Regions from separate parts of the Homo sapiens genome. Here regions 1 and 2 are each linked to region 3. The links are contacts of gene promoters, found by promoter capture Hi-C in blood cells and fetal thymus (Javierre and others, 2016). All regions are on one chromosome and are shown on one strand. Each heading gives the region's core, a stretch centred on a gene start or on the middle of the fragment in contact. The rest is flanking DNA. Distances are from core to core; before and after follow the strand shown. Region 1 holds the start of ABHD10 (abhydrolase domain containing 10, depalmitoylase). Region 2 holds the start of NECTIN3-AS1 (NECTIN3 antisense RNA 1). Region 3 overlaps MORC1 (MORC family CW-type zinc finger 1).

Evidence for each region. Contacts are between HindIII fragments. The CHiCAGO score rates a contact against its expected background, and 5 or more counts as called.
Region 1: a contact is called between the fragment with the promoter of ABHD10 here and a fragment that was not itself captured in region 3, in 1 of 17 cell types (total B cells). The highest score is 7.0, in total B cells.
Region 2: the fragment with the promoter of NECTIN3-AS1 here is called in contact with a fragment that was not itself captured in region 3 in 1 of 17 cell types (naive CD8 T cells); the score reaches 6.9 in naive CD8 T cells.

What each region holds. Positions count from the first base shown.
Region 1 is chr3:111,977,599-111,980,298 of GRCh38, reverse strand. ABHD10 (abhydrolase domain containing 10, depalmitoylase) reads right to left here and starts at 1,273. Exons shown (of 5, transcript NM_018394.4): 1 at 1,096-1,273. The coding sequence starts at 1,237. RefSeq lists enhancers at 1,034-1,083, 1,104-1,153, 1,164-1,213, 1,072-1,631. The HindIII fragment of the contact is 3,690 bases long and covers 1-2,700 here.
Region 2 is chr3:111,068,618-111,071,317 of GRCh38, reverse strand. NECTIN3-AS1 (NECTIN3 antisense RNA 1) reads left to right here and starts at 1,359. Exons shown (of 4, transcript NR_045114.1): 1 at 1,359-1,528; 2 at 1,847-2,054. LOC151760 (putative uncharacterized protein LOC151760) reads left to right here. Exons shown (of 4, transcript XR_007096272.1): 2 at 1,847-2,054. The HindIII fragment of the contact is 1,000 bases long and covers 1,154-2,153 here.
Region 3 is chr3:109,023,201-109,025,900 of GRCh38, reverse strand. All of the region lies in intron 17 of MORC1 (MORC family CW-type zinc finger 1), which reads left to right. Among named protein-coding and RNA genes, the nearest start is that of GUCA1C, 71 kb to the right of the region's middle. The HindIII fragment of the contact is 1,348 bases long and covers 711-2,058 here.

The sequences.
Region 1 (2,700 bases), core at 24-2,523, 3.0 Mb before region 3:
AAAACTTTTGGTAAGGACCAGTTATGCTGATCCACTCATGTTCATTTCCCATCTACTCAGCTGAGCACTAAAAAAAATTCTCACTATCCTCTTCCAGAAATCACCTCTTAAAACATAATTTCCCCGAGATGATTATAATTTATTTAATGTAAGTTCTAAGTAGACAGATTCATATAATTATATTCATAAATCATCTTTGAACATAAGGATTAATTCAAAGCCTGGTGCATAAGTGCTCAATGAATAAGTGCTAACTAGATGAAATAATATTATACTCTGGTTAATGAATTGACATACTACATTTTACTAGGAGTATTTGCATGTGTAACATGCCTTTTGGTTGCGCACAATTAAATGCAAGTTAATCTGATTATAAAAGTTTAAAAACTGGATACAAAAATCTCCATACAAAAGATCTCTGCCGTGACATTAATTACCACTCCAAGCACCATGCATCATCTGACAGCTACGTGGCAATGGTGTGAACCACACACAAAGCCAAAAAAATAAAAGGATCTAATTCAAAGACTATATATACATATAAGAGGTTCTCTGATTTTTAGCCCAAATTCTAGTTTCCTTTGTGCAATAATGATTATGGTTCTTTCACTGAGTGGGTGCAGCAAGAAAGCAGAACTAGAAATTAGGCTTATGAGGGCGTCTACACTTTTACAAAGAACATGCCTCGCATTGTTAGGTTCCCTAAACTCAAAGGAGAGTCAGTCTAAGCATTTTAGGAGTCACAATCTACAAATTCCTAGAAGTAACTAATAATAATGCATTAAATGCACATTTTAATTTTTTCTAGTGTTGGCCTTTAATGCAGGGGAGGCAGGTAAGGAGCAGGAGCTCTTTAAACTGCACAGTGTAAAACGCCAGCGAGGGCCCGGGGTGCCCAGAATGCCGCAGGGCCGCGGCAGAGCTCTCCTCACAGCCTTCACCAGAAGTCTACAAAGCGCCTAGAACTGGGGTGTTGAGAAAGGGGGAGGAGCATTTTTGAACCGGGCGCCAAAGACGCACTGCACAGGCACGGTAACTGACGGAACCCGAGGCGTTCGAAAGAACGCATCCTACTCCCGCCTTTCGGACACTGACCTGGGAGCCACCGTGGCGCCCGCTGAGGTATCCGTGCAAGCAGCACGCTGAGGCCACGGTGGGGACCGAAGGGGACGGCTGCCCAGCCCCAGCTCCGACAAGGTACCCAGGCCGCCACAGCTGCCAAGCGCGCAACCGCCATCTTCGTAGTTGTCCCCGCACCCTGCAGTGTCCCACTGAGGGACACGCTACGCAACGGAACCGAGGCTGCGCATGCGCTTCAGGCTGGAAGGCGGAACTTGCTAAAGAGCTCCCCGCAAGATTTTCAGCTTGCGAAGAGCGCACATGCGCAGAGCGTCGTGGCTCTTTCGTTTAGACTGTTGGTTCTACTAGTAGCGGGGTTTGGCTTGGGGCCTTTAAGATGTTTTGAGTGGCGTCGGGAGGCTGCCCTATCAGCGGGCTGATAGATACTACAGAGCTGGAAGCTCAGAAAGGAACCCTATCCAACGGTCCTAGATGGGAAACGTCTCCTGTCGAGGACACCAGGCTTGCTGCATCACCTGCAATCCCGCCGACCGCGTGACAGTTTTAACCTGTACTGGAAATGCTCCCAAGATCTGACATTAATCTCGCCTGTATAACCTGGAATGGTATCGGACATTCCCCGCTCTAGATCTATATGCCTGATTAACGAAATACTGAATTATCTTGGCCCCCTCCTCGTGCTATATGCGAAAATAAATTTCAGTAAAAAAAGATTTCAACGGAAGAATACAACTGAGAGGATTAAATAAATTTTAGGAGAATATTATATAATCCGGGGACAGAAGGGACTTTCTTAACCAAGATTTCAAAACCCCAACATCATAAATAAAAAATATATTTGTATACGAATTTAAACTTTTTGAATGGCAAAAGACACCTCAAGTTAAGAGCTTAGAAAAATGGATTTTGTAGCATAGATACATTAATACTTCTACTCAGCCTGCTCCTATAAATAAGAAATATAATTCAAATAAAATTGGCCAACAGCTATAAATAGGCAGCCCATATAAGGAAACATGATGCTCAAACTCACTAAATGAAAAACTGGAATTAAAAAAATAATGCCTTTTTCCCCCCATTCAGTTGGCAAAAAAGAAAAATAATTGGCAAGGATGCTAGACACTAGCACTTATGTATGATTGCTAGGAAGGTGAATTACTAAAATTTGTTGTGAAGTAATATGGCCACATCTATTACAATTTTAAAATATGCATCCATTCCAGTGCCTTTTAACGCAGTGGCACCAATTTGTGATTATCCTATAGAAAAACAACACTAGTTCTTAAGACTGCATATTATCTACTACACCGTTTTTAGAGGCAAAGAGAAGGAAAAAAATGGGAATGGCTAACAATAGAAAAATAGTTGAATAAATTGTAGTACAAGGGTTTCCGGACTCCAGCTCTAAATACCTTTCAAACTAATTCCTGGGGGCCTCAAGCATCAACCATGGAGTTTTACGTAGTAGTTTCCTATTTAAAAGTTATGGTGGCTTGTGTAATACTTTGAGTATATATAAGATAGTAAAGTAACTTTTATTATCCTGGTTATAAATTTGGGGGGCAGTAATTGGTACCAGAATTAAAGGCAAAGTTTGGATATAGTGAATCCAGCATGTCT
Region 2 (2,700 bases), core at 110-2,609, 2.0 Mb before region 3:
CGGGGACCTGGGACGAGGGGGTGGGGTGGGGAGGGGAAGGCAGGAGGGGGCTGCCCTTCCGTTGCCCATGCTAAAGGTTCCTGTGTAGGAAGCTGGACGCAGCCTGCTGGACTAGTAATCTTCCTCCTCGCTGGGGCGCGGGGCACTGAAGGGAGGGAGAGACTTTCTCCTCCTTCCTGTTCCCCGGGACAGCTGTGCTCTCCGAATCCTTCCCTTCTTCCCAGCCCACTTATTCCCCGCTCGCCAAGGCACGTTTGCACAGGCATTTTTCCTGCTCTTTTTTCTGGGAGGGCAGCTTGGTAGAATGGTCGGCGGAGCTGGGCGAGGAGAGGGGTCTTCAGAAGGTTTGCTTTCTTGCTCTTGCTTCTCACTGGCCGCTGGGCTGTCCACTTTCCGCGCCGGGCGACTGGCAACAGGAGGCCATGGATTTCCCCCAACGAGTGCGTTGGTGTTTTTCTTTGGTTTTGTTTCCTTTGCATGTTCGTATGTGTAGTTTTATTTTCTTGCCTGTTTTCGTTTGATGGCAGAGAGGCGACCTCGGGAAGTATTAAACATTTGCCCGTATAAGAAGAGCGTCTGTGGTCCACCATGACCCTCGCTCATCCCAGGTGGCTCTCCGCCCTGCCCTCTCCATCCTCCCGCCTCGCACAGTACCGGCAGCTTGACCTTGGAGCCACTGCCACATTGGTTCCGCGGGGGGAGTAGGAGGGTGGACAATTTGGACTGTCCAGCGTAGGGGGTGAATTGAAGGCAGAGGACACCAGTCCTCAGGCCTGACACTATTAATTTTATGTAGGTCCTGTCATCTCCACGAGATAGCCATAAATGTGTTCCAGTAACAGGAAAGCTGAACAAGGATCAGCCGCCCAGAAGTTAGCCTGTCGCAGCTAAACTAATGCATGCTTGCGGCCAAGACCACGCTGTCCTCGGCTTTCAGTCAATAGGGTCTTCCCACCTTCCGCCCGCTGGATTACAAGGCTTTACTAACCTCCAAGGCTACAAGCCATTCTACACCCTGCCCACCTCTTTTTTCTTTCTTAACTTCTGCCTCCCTTCCAGTCTCCCAGCGCTCGGTCTAGTGCCTTTTTCCCTCCAGCCCTTTCCTCTTCCCTCCCTCCCTGTGCCTGTCTGCCTCTGTCGTCCCCTGTAAGCTTGTCTCCTGCAGCCAAGGCTTTCTATCACCTATTCTCAAGATGCACTTATGAATAAACCTTGTCCTGCATCGCTCCGGGAGATCCCCTGATGATGATCATAATTGACAAAATGTAGCTATTGTGACATTCCTCAGCTGTGCTGACACCACCGTTTCCCTTGAGAAAATTTCTTTTTCTATATTCGCATTCCCTAAACCTAATTTCACTGCTAAATTTAGACAGCTCACTGCGCAGCCACTAGCTAATTATCTGTTTAGATAGCACTTTAACACGTTGTTGAGACTCAGTTAAATGTTAAACAACCAAAATTTTAATATCACTAGCCAATTTCATTCTTCCAGGTTTTCCCTGATGGCTCCACATCTCCAAGAAAAGTAATTTAGCCAACATTTCAAAAAATACCAAAGGCTTAACTTGGGTAGGGGCCATCGGGCAATTGCTACAGAGACCATAAGGAATTAGCAGGTTAAGTTCGTCTCAAAAAGATGACATGGAGCTTTAACAAATATATTTCCTCCATACTTACAGAAATTGAATAGTGGTCTGCTATGATATTCTCTGACCTAAAGTGAAGAGAGAGCATGGAAGAGCATTATTTATAGATGTTATATAAGCATTAAAAGAGCACCATGCTGGTGTTTTATGTGCATATATGTATTATATTCTAATAATAATAATTTGTGTTTATACAGCATCTTCAACTAAAGATGTCAAAGCACAAGCTCACTTCCCACGGAAGGTAGCAATTACTATTATCTACTTGACAGCTACAAGAACCTAGGCACAGAGGTTAAGTGCTCTGCAAATACTACCAGCCAGTGGTGGTTTTCCTGCCAGAACCAAGTTCTTGCCTTCCAGTGGACACCATTGATCTCTCAAGATGATTCTTTAAGTTAAAAAGTAAGATAACTCAAATTTCTACTTTCTATAATAAAAGTGCCCAATCTTAAATTACATTCTCCTCAGATGAGTGAATTTTAGACATACTCACCCCAAGCTTTCCTGTTGGAAATTTTTACTGGCCACAGAAAAAGATTTTACATTACATATACAACTCATGTTTTTCAAGGGCAGAAATACTATTAATTTTTTTAAAACCTTTAGCATGAGAGTATTAGTGCGTTCTATGCCATTTTTAGTCTTCTAACTTTATACATAAGTTCACATTTATTGTTTGAATAACAAACTGTTTAAGGAATACTTAATTATAGCTAACTTATTAATATTTCTGACACCATTGAATAACAAAGTATACATGCATTTTTTCAGAAAAAAATTATCTGAACAGAAAGCAATGTAATCCTAATGCCAACAATAGTTTCATTGTTTTGGGTTAAGAGTACTGATGGTGTCCATCCTACTTTCGGCTCAAAGATTGTTTGCCAATTATCAAGGTTCATTAACTCTTAACTAAAAAACAAAGGTTGACATCTTAACAAAGAAGTAATTATGTACAGTGCTGGGCATTTTACATTTACTCAAATAATCCAAGTGAAAAGTTTGAGACTATTATTAGAATTTCATAGCTGACTCTGAAACAAAGGAG
Region 3 (2,700 bases), core at 135-2,634:
ACCAGGTACTCAATAGGTAGTTGAATCAATAAGTAAAACATGCCGTCAGATATTATACAGTCTTTTTGTGGATCAAGTCTAACAGCTATTTAAAAATGAGCAACCACTATAAAGTAATATTAATTCACATGTGTTTTCTTATTGTAACTGACACTGCAATAGAAGTTTACTGCAGGAGATAGTGAGGGCAGCTTCAATCAAAGAAAGTTATATAGGGGTGTTGGGCATGGTGGCTCACACCTGTAATCCCAGCACTTTGGGAGGCTGAGATGGGCAGATCACTTGAGGTCAGGAGTTTGAGACCAGCCTGGCCAACATGGTGAAACATCATCTCTACAGAAAATACAAAAAATTAGCTGGGTGTGGTGGCTCACGCCTGTAATCCCAGCTACTTCAGAGGCTGAGGTGGGAGAATCCTTTGAACCTGGGAGGCAGAAGTTGCAGTGAGCCCACGCCACTGCATTCCAGCCTGGGGGAAAGATGAGACTCTGTCTCAAAAAAAAAAAAAAAAAAAAAAAAAAGAAAAAAGAAAAAGAAACCAAAGAAAGTTATATAGGGGAAGTGATACTTGTATCTTGAAGTCTATTTAGGATAAATAGAGGGAAAAGGATAGGGCATTTCAGGTGAGAAAAACAACCTAAAGGAACACTTGGAGCTGAACACTGATTTGTTCTTTCATGGAACCAGTCACTTAAATTACATGTTAAGCTTTCATATTTTAAAAATTAAACTCAGTATTTGTGTGGCATCTCTCTTTTAAAAATGGTGTGACTTGTTACAATGATGCAACTCCCATATAGTTATAATATGGTAATTACTGAACAGAAGACCTCTGAAAGATGACCTTGATTCCTCCTTTCACAAAAATAATCCATGAACATGTTCAGAAACTATGTTTTGGTGATATTTATCTGATGTCAAAACTAAGACTAAAAACCATGCAATGTTCAGTGTAAATTTCCTGTCCTCATTCTAAAACCCTTTAGAAGTAGTTTTGGAATGTGAGATAAGAAAGGATGGGAAAGCTAGAAAAACAGGCCATCATTGGCCCCATTCAGTTTCAAATATAGGCTAGACATCACTGAAAAAATCAAGAACTGGCTAGTTTATTACTATGATTCACTGTATGTCTATTTTTGGTGTCCATTCACCCATTCAGTATCACAGAATCATACAATATATGCCATGTAATTATTATTTGCCCACCTCCTGTTTTCTCTTCCTCCATCCCACTCCCAATGACCACTTATCCATTGACCAGACCTGTGTAGTGAATATAAAAATGACCTAAACCTGCACACCCTATCTCTTAACTCTCTTGCATTTCAGCTTTAATGGTAGCAGGCATCTTGATCTGGAAAATGAAAGGTTGACCAGGTAAATCAAAAATCTTTCTGGATTTTAGGTTCTATGGGTATCTAATGATTAGATGGTAAGAGAGTTATCCTAATTATTAGATGTTGTCCCATAGGAGAAAATGAAGTAGCTAGATCTAAAGGTATCGTTTCCACATGGTATCTTATTTAATTCCTACAACATTCCAGCTAGTTATATCTATTTTAACAAAGAGGAAAGTGAAATCCAAAAAAGTTAAAAATAATTTTAATCAAAGCACGTAACTTTAAATGGTGAAGTTGGAATTTATTTCCTTTTTGCCCAATTCCAGCACCATATTTCTCGCAGTCTTATAGGAAAAATACAGACAAAAAGGACATAAGAACATTTACAGTAGCAACAAACTTATATATTGCAAATCATATTTGTTAAGGGAAATACCTAAGTTCAGTAAACCTAATAGGAGAGCTCAAATTCAAGATCTGTCACCTGTGGTGCATTTTATAGACTAAAGGGGTTGTCCTCCATGTAATTGATAAGCTATGTCAACAAGCCAAGATCCTTGTTATAAATTGTGCTTCTGAATACAACCCATCCCCATCTTTATCCTTTTGAATAGATGAATAAGTAATCTGTTTCTAACTACTTTCAGCTTCATTCCACATTACCTGCTGTTTTCTATACCGAGTGACAAGTGCCACCTGCTGGCCAAGTGATGAAGCTTTTATTTCTATTGTTTCACTGGATTGCTCAGTTGTAATTGGCATATTAGCTGGATAATTGTTATTTTTTGGTAAACCTAGGCAATAATTTAAAAACCATAATGTTATAAAATAAATTTCTCTGTATTTCAGGACCTCTCCGTTCTCAAATTTGCCTCTTTCTCAGATTTAACTTAAAATTTCTCTTCTACCTTCTATTGTGTGACAAGGATGATTGTGTCATTATCATGCACACAGAATCTAGTTTTAGTTACACTTTATTCAGGATTTTATGGTACCATCTAAAATCCACTTAATACCCTCAATCATTAAAAGACAGATCATACCTTTCTCCCTGAATTAAGCTACCCTATATTTACCCCTTTATACCTAAGTAATGTTAATGAGTAGTGTATTTGCATAATCAATATATTTCTGCAATGTGTGATGAATTGCTTATGTGTCCCCTAGGTCTTTCTGAATTAATCTTTTGTATTTACTATACATTTCTTGGCCTACAGCCCAGGCTGTCTATAATCTGACACTAGTTGCCTTTCTATTAATATAATAGCATTCGTTTCTTTCACTCTGTATGGTGCTGCTACTGAGCTTCTCCATATTTCTTACAAGTGTTCACTTCCATGTGGCTCTGCAGGCCTTTGTT